Regions from separate parts of the Homo sapiens genome. Here region 2 is linked to region 1. Evidence: promoter capture Hi-C in 16 types of primary human blood cells and fetal thymus (Javierre and others, 2016). All regions are on one chromosome and are shown on one strand. The core of a region is centred on a gene start or on the middle of the fragment in contact, and the rest is flanking DNA. Distances in the headings are between cores, read along the strand shown. Region 1 holds the start of SPART (spartin). Region 2 holds the start of PDS5B (PDS5 cohesin associated factor B).

What was found. The method cuts DNA at HindIII sites, captures the fragments that hold promoters and counts their contacts. A CHiCAGO score of 5 or more calls a contact.
Region 2: the fragment with the promoter of PDS5B here is called in contact with the fragment with the promoter of SPART in region 1 in 6 of 17 cell types (monocytes, total B cells, total CD4 T cells and 3 more); the score reaches 8.4 in monocytes.

What each region holds. Positions count from the first base shown.
Region 1 is chr13:36,344,230-36,348,117 of GRCh38, forward strand. SPART (spartin) reads right to left here and starts at 2,165. Exons shown (of 9, transcript NM_015087.5): 1 at 1,996-2,165. It overlaps SPART-AS1 (SPART antisense RNA 1), which reads left to right and starts at 2,202. Exons shown (of 5, transcript NR_045181.1): 1 at 2,202-2,278. RefSeq lists a silencer at 2,014-2,063. The HindIII fragment of the contact is 1,461 bases long and covers 1,752-3,212 here.
Region 2 is chr13:32,584,254-32,588,141 of GRCh38, forward strand. PDS5B (PDS5 cohesin associated factor B) reads left to right here and starts at 2,199. Exons shown (of 35, transcript NM_015032.4): 1 at 2,199-2,340. It overlaps PDS5B-DT (PDS5B divergent transcript), which reads right to left and starts at 2,192. Exons shown (of 3, transcript XR_001749808.1): 1 at 2,124-2,192; 2 at 1,551-1,669; 3 at 765-1,316. RefSeq lists silencers at 1,884-2,253, 2,264-2,343, 2,764-3,013 and an enhancer at 3,244-3,303. The HindIII fragment of the contact is 4,434 bases long and covers 46-3,888 here.

The DNA of each region.
Region 1 (3,888 bases), core at 915-3,414:
AGCGAGGCATAATGAAGGAATATAGCTAGAAGCAATATTTACCTTGGGTATACGTTTATTTCTAAGCTTATTTTACATACGGTGTGATGAAAGATTTCCTAATAATGTGTCAATGGAGGGAACAAGATGGCTACTGAGAAAGAAGAGTGTGCCTGTGTGTAGGGGTGGAGTGGGAGGGCTAATTCCACAGGATTGCTTAATAACCTTCCTTGCTACATCTCCATCTTAAAGAGAAAAAAAGGATACACGAGAGAAGAGCCTGGGTATCTAGAGGTTATATATAAGTCTAATGGTCAATTTCAGTCTAATCTCTGGGGAATCTCAACACAGAAAGAAAAAGGTTTATATTAAAATATCACATTTTTATTTTGTGACTGGGATTTGCTATATCCTCAGCGGTCTCAGAAAATACATTTTACAGAAATAAGGATTGGAGGATGGTGACTTAAAAAAAAGCCTATTCTATTCCTAAGCACAATTAAGTGTCAATCAAGTGTCCTGAAAAGATAAAAACCATTATCACATTATTTCACATTATTTAATTTTCAAAGTTAAGAAGACAAAGTCTTTGAAATGACAATCTGATGTATTAAACAGTACCTACACCAGTGTACAGTCTTCAACAACAAACCAAAATCTGTTCCGATACCAGTAGTTCACCTAAATTCTAATTTTTTAACGTTCTAATAAAACACATTTATTTCAACATAACTACATGTATGTCTGTGTATGTCTTAAAAAATACCCGAGAAAAGGTAAAATTCTGCATTAAAATACCTAGCAATTTAGTTCGATTCCATAAACACTGAAAGAAGTAACACTCTCACTTAACAGTCAACATTACAAGCAGTCTTTAATAATACCGCATTTAACTCCTTAGAGCTAGCACAAGTTGATCTAATGCCTATTTGGCCCTTTACCAAAAAAGCGGAGGGGGCTTTGTCTAACACCTGTATACACCTCCCTCCGTAGCATCCCGCTCATTCTAGCTTCTTAGGGAAACCATAGACAACGACGTTTCAGAGAGTGCCAGAGGTGAAGCCGACCCGAAACCACATTACAGAAAGGCTTCCTGTTTCAAACAGGTCCAATAAAGCCACCAAATTAAGTCTACGATTATAAAGAACTGCGAATCAGAAAATAATTCCATATAGGTGCAGTCTTCTATTACTTTTTTCCCCACTTTCGGAAATTTCAAAGAAAAATTGCTACATTCTTAAATATGAGGCCATTATTTCAAAGGCTGTAACAACCTGGAACGCAAATTCGTTAAATTATGATACAATAAGGCCAACCTCGAGGATCCTCGGTGGACTACTAGCGCACTTCCTTACAATTAGAAAGTGAAAAACTGGGTCAGCCCTAGAGTCACGCAATAATGCTGCGTCACGAAACTGCGCATTCCAAGAGAAACTTTTCTCAGGCCCAGAATTAAGTCGGAGGGATCCGCCGCGCAGCTCAATCCCTAGGAAGCATGAAAGAATGTATTGTAAAGAGTAAAATCACGCGCAATCCATCCCAATATAACCGCAGTTGTTCGTGGGCCTTCTTGCAGAGAAAGGCTGCCCAACCTTGACGGGGCCATGGGCGCTGCGGGAGGGCAAAAGACCACAGAGATCTGCGAAGCCAAAGTAAACAACGGGGTTGGGGCGGCGAGAATGATCAATAGCGATGCTCCGAAAGGACTCCGCGATAGGAATCGAGCGGGAAGGATTCCCTCCATCCTAACAGTCCATGGGTTAAGAGGCCGAAGCTTCCCTAAATACCACACTCCCGCGAGAGAAGGGACTGAGAACAACTTCTCAAACTATTCTCTCTCGAAATCGCTCCCTTCCTCGAAAATTCCATCTCTGAGACTCGGATGAGGTCCCCACCCCCTCCACCCTTGTCCCGTGACCGTCGCCCGCTCAGCCTCCCAGCCGAGTCCGCGGGGCCTGGGGCGCCCACCCCGCCCACCCAAGGGACCGCGCAGGGGTGAACTCCCCCGCGCCCCACCTGCGCCTTCCAGACCTCGGGCGCCCCGGCGTTGCCTCGAGAGCTCCCTGCGCGGCCGCCGCGGCACGGACCAGCTCCCACTCCCTTACACTGGGCGCCGCTGCGCTCGCCGGGGGCCGGTCCCGAGGTTCCCAAGGCCTCGCGCGCGCGCTTGCCGTGGCAACCAAGACGTTCCACGACGCGCGCTCTCGAACGCTTCGCGTCACGCGGCCGCGCGGCCCCGCCCGTCGGCCTCGCTCCCGCCACAGAGCCCGCAGCACGCCGCCGCCGCAGCCTAGGTCACGTGAGTACCCACGCGCGCGTCTTGCCAGCGGATTCATCACCGGCCTGCTCAGACTAGGTTCTGCCCACTCTGACCTTCTAAATGGTACGTGGGAGGACGTCCGTCCCCTTCGGACCCAAGAGTCACCGTAACACTCTAGAAGGGGAGAAAAGGAGCGAGGGCGGCAGGCGACAGAGAACCTCGCGAGTCAGCGGCCCCGCGCAGACCCCCCCAGGCACGGTCCCCTGCGGCCACGTCGGCTGCTCGGCGCCTGCGCAATCTCTTTCTCTCCAGCGAAACCGAGGCCTCCGGAGAGCCTAGTAGAGAGTGTGGGCAGTGAGCGCTTGTAGCCGCTAGAGGGAGCGCTGGGCACAGTGCACGAGAGACAATAAAGGCTGATTATCCCCTCAATGTCTCTGCAGCCTGAGCTTTGTGACTTCTGTATCCAGAGCACAGTTAATTTCCAAAAGCCCGCCTGCACCACGTGTTTTAAGTCTTGGTGTGTGTGTAAAGTCTATATCACTATCATAAAACTGTTAGTTCCTGATTCCGGGATACAAAGAGTAAAATCAAGATGAACATACTTTACCCTTCTTGACAAGTGTTTTTAAATTAGTAAAATATTGTAGATGACAGACTCTTCAATAGGGCTGCCTTAGGGAAAAAAAAACAGAAAAAAGAAAAAGCAGTATGTACTTGCCCGGAGCATTTAGAACCAGTTTTGTTGTTGTTGTGTTTTTGTTTTGTTTTGAGACAGAGTCTTACTATGTTGCCCAGGCTGGAGTGCAGTGGCATGATCTCGGCTCACTGCAACCTCTGCTTCCCAGGTTCAAGCGACTCTCATGCCTCAGCCTCCAGAGAAGCTGGAATTACAGCTGTGCACCACCACTCCCGTCTAATTTTTGTATTTTTAGTAGAGACGGGGTTTCACCATATTGGCCAAGCTGGTCTTGAAAGCTTGACCTCAAGTTAGCCAGGCTGGTCTCGAATTCCTGACCTCAAGCGATCCACCTGCCTCAGTTTCCCAAAGTGCTGGGATTACAGGCGTGAGTCACCGCGCCTGGCCTTAGGACCAGTTAAGTGACTCCCTCAAATCTCAGAAAGGTAGCAGTCAGTCATCCCAAAAAGCAAAACCTATTAGGAATATATTAATACAGTGGTTTCAAAATGATTTTGCTCTTATACCCCCAAAGGAGTCCCCAAAGACTATGACTGTATTCTCACTTCCACGTTTTTGGATTGACCATCACAATTTCTCATCTGACTTAAATAGTTACAAAAGAAGCAACTTCTGTTTTATTATAAATTAACATTTTAAAATAAAAGTTATATAACTTTTAAATGTAGCCAGTGGAATCTAAATACCAATTTAATATCTAAAATCATCAATTTTTAAAACTACATGAACAAGCTTTTAACAGAAGGAAATTTTACATCATTTCTTTTCTTCTTGAACTCATATTTCCGTTCCATATTGTGAAATTGTATGTCAATATTTCTTTAGTCTTGCAAATATTGGCCAGGCTTGGTGGCTTATGCCTGTAGTCCCAGCTACTCCAGAGGCCGAGGCAAGAGAATCGCTTGAGCCCAGGAGTTCGAGACCAGCCTGGGCAACATGACGAAACCCGTCC
Region 2 (3,888 bases), core at 949-3,448, 3.8 Mb before region 1:
GTCATATAAAAGTATGCCCTTTTGTTAGAAACTATGCCTCATTAAAGCTTTAGGGTTTTTCCTCTGTCTGTCCTAATGGTAATTGCCCCATTGACCCTTACAATGTAGCTATTTTGAAGGCTATCTCCTTTCTGCCCACTCTTTTCTTGGGCTTAATCCTGTGGTGTTAGCAGCCTAACGTGGGCAATATGTATTCCGGGCCTCATTGAAATTCAAGGCATCATTTTATAAGAGAGAGGGTTAATGGTGAAACTGGCAAAACTGCTCACAAAGTTGACGTGACACCTTCAGCCCTTTCAGGACTCACTGCCATATACAAGATGTAGAGTGACATTCTTAAACAATTCATACATCCAACAAAATATTTACTGAGGCTTCCAGGTGTCAAATAATGGGGATAAGAGCACTGAATAATTTATACAAAAACTCTTAGCCGGGCATGGTGGCTCACGCCTGTAATCCTAGCACTTTGGGAGGCTGAGGCAGGCAGATCACGAGGTCAGGAGATCGAGACCATCCTGGCCAACATGGTGAAACTCTGTCTCTACTAAGAATTACAAAAAATTAGCTGAGAGTGGTGGTGTGTGCCTGTAGTCCCAGCTGCTTGGGAGGCTGAGGCAGGGGAATTGCGTGAACTCAAGAGGGAGGTTGCAGCGAGCCAAGATCGCGCCACTGCACTCCAGCTTGGCGACAGATCAAGACTCCATCTCAAAAAAAAAAAAAAAAAAAAGAAAGAAAAAAGAAAAAAAAATTCTTGCTTTCATCCTGGCTTTCTTCTGAAACTTTCTGGCTTCCTGGCTTTGGAGGTTTGGGAATTGAAGAAAATAAAGTAAAAAACATAATAAAAACAACCAAAGAGGAAAGGTTTTTCTAGATCTAGACATCCTACTCTCCCATACAAGATTTATGTTGATGGAACAACGATGTAAAATAAGAAAATTCCTGAGATAATTTTAAAAAGAGGGCAGAAAAAACTCATAGTAGACTTCATCGAGGAATGTATAAAATGGGTAGAACCTGGAGTATTCAGTGGCAAAATCTTGGACACAGGAATACAGTAACACAACATATTGGTCTAGCAAGCACTGGAGGAGACTGAGGCGGAATTGTCCAGCGAATCCCACAAAAATGGAAATGAAGAGGTCTCAGTATCTCTAGGTGCCCGGGTCCGATGGAATACCGATGTACATACCTTTTCTAACACAGTAGCATTAGTTTATATATCAGCATTACCTCTCTTTTGTTTCAGTTGATAAGTATCCTACTGTAATCCATTCATTCACACTTTGCTTGTTCATTGTTGAAACAAATTCTCCCTGGAACAAAATTCTAGTAACCAAATACATCATATCAGGGGAAACTTCCTTACAGCAGGGATGGTATTAAAGTAAAAAGAGGAGGAAGTCCCTTCTTCAGCTCTGGCAGGGACCCGGCTGGGGAGGAAACCTTCCCGCAAGGTAGGTGATCTGCTGTGGTGACCAGGCTAAACCCACTCTACAGCTGCAGGAGGGACTGGCATCCCTTAGAGGTGAAGAGGGGAGGAGACCCACCTCCTGGAATGTGTCCCTGTGGTCTCCAGATGATTTCTTCCTCTAATAAGGACAATTCTGCCAAAGGAATGGAATGCTTCGTCACAGGCTCAATTACTCTGTCTCCGCCAGCCTACCACCTATAAACAATTCCTCAAATTAGGAAAGCGGGGAGATTTAATAAAGACATAACACGTAAAGTGTAGGAAAACTATTTGTATGGCATTCCGAGACGACTAGGTCAGAGTTAACAAGTAAGGAGCAAAGTAGTTAATAATACCAATTCTGTTTACCCATCACAACACCTGTGCTGAATGTCAGGGTTTAAAAAAATCTCCCAACCTTTATCTAAAAAGATAGGGCTACGTAACAATCGGTGTGGTTTTTGTCGGTAGAGGTCTAGGAAGCCGCAAGAGTAGTGGACGCCTTGACAGCTGCCCTTCTCGCGGGCCCCGCGGCGGCGTGCCCGTGTGGTTGCGTGCGCGCGGACGGGGCGGGGCTGAGGAGGGACGTGCGCGCGCGCGGACGGGGCGGGGTGGAGCTCGGAGGGCGGACGCGCTCGGGGCCGTCTGGTCGGCAGGGGGCGCTGCGCACCCATGCCGCGCTCTGCCTGCCCCCGGGTGCTGTCCGCGGCGGTTCGATTGGAGCAGCCGCCGAAGAGCGCTTGGCGCCATTTTGAAGCGGAGAGGAGGAGGAACGGCAGGGCTGGCTGCGGAAGGGGAGGGGGGGGGAGAAGGCGATTGGATGCGGCGGCGGCGGCGGATCCCGGAGAGCCCCGGAGTGAGCGGAGTAGCGAGTCGGCAACCCGGAGGTAGGAAACAATTCAGTTAACGGAAAGAAAATGTCTCTCTTCTCTGGCTGCGGCGCTCCATTTTTCAGCGGCCGCCACTGCCGCTGTGTGCGTGTGTGTGGCAGGGCTGAAGCGCCGCCCGCCTGGGTGCCAGGCGCGACTCGCCTCCCGGCATCGGGGGCTGCAGCGGGTGGCTGCCTGGCGGTGGCCCGGGGCGGGGGTCGCGGGGCGCGGGCCGGCTGCGCGGTGGGGGTGGGGAGGGCCCCGCGGCCGGCGCGCGCCTCCACGCCGCGGGTTCTGCCGCAGCCTCTGGAAAATTAAACTTGCCGCTCTGATCCCGGCCGGGGCGGCGGCGGCGGCGGGCGGTGACCTTGCGCGCGGGCGGGGGTCTCGGGGCCGCCCGGCCGCCCGCGCCCTCCCGCCGCCGCCGTCGCCGCCGCCGCGCCCCTCCCCCCGCGCCCCGGCCGGCCGGCGGCTGTTTCCCGGGCGGCAGGCGGGCGGCGCGGTGCTCCTGTTGAATCCTCCCGCGGGCGGGCTTCTCCCCCTTCCGGGCGAGGGGCGGGCGGGGACCGCGGGTCGGGGCCGCGGGCGCTCTCGCCCCCGCCGCCGGGTCCCCGCGCGCCGCCTGGCCTCCGCTTCGGGCCAGGGGACGGGCTGAGCGTGACATTTTTGCACTGTCCCTCGCCGCTCGCCGGAGGGAAATCGCGCTCACCGCGCCACCCCGAGTGGTCCCCGAGCAGCCAGTTGAGGAAGAGCCCAGCACTGGCGTGGAGGGACTCCTCCCAGGCCACAACTGGGTTCTAGCTTTCCTTTCAGAAGGAACGGCGGGGAAAATGGTGTGCAATTGTGACTCGTTATTGTTTTTACACTGTTATTTTAATGTTACTTTAAAAGTTTTCGGTCCGGAGAAAAACCTTGTTTGTTGTTGTTGCTGCTACTGCTGTTGGTTTTTGGTAGAGACGTGAAAGCTAACTCTTAAGTAGCTCGACAGTTATTTTGGACGAATGACTGAAACCAGAAACGCCGCCCCTCGCCTTCGGAGCTGCAGGCTGCTGCGTTCCTTGCCGCGGACGGGGCGAGCTCCGGGAAGGGTTGGTAGAGCAGCTACCCACCCACTCCACGCGCGTCTTCAACAGCCTCTCTCCCCCAGCGAGGGTTAACCCTTTTTTATGTCGAAGAAAGTGCTTCTCGTACTTTTAATAAGAGGTGATGGATGGGCAGTGGTGCCCAGACTGATCCTACCCTGTTGATGAAATAGTTTCGAAAACTTTGGGTATAGCCTTAATTTAGAGGGTTGGTCTGCGGTGTGGAGAGAGTTGGGTAATCCTATACTATCTTCCTAATGAACTTCAAAAACTCAAGTTGTGTTTACATACAGGAGGCGAGCTGTAAATAAATCGTAATTACCCAATGCTTGAACGGCAGTATAGTCATTGTTCTCAGTTAACACATCCCGAGTTCCCAGACAGAACGTTTTTTATATTAACTCATGTAGTGGTCAGGTAAAGTAATTAAAAGCCACAAATATGGACTTGAAAGACAGCTCTTCATGCAGTACACATGTCTGAG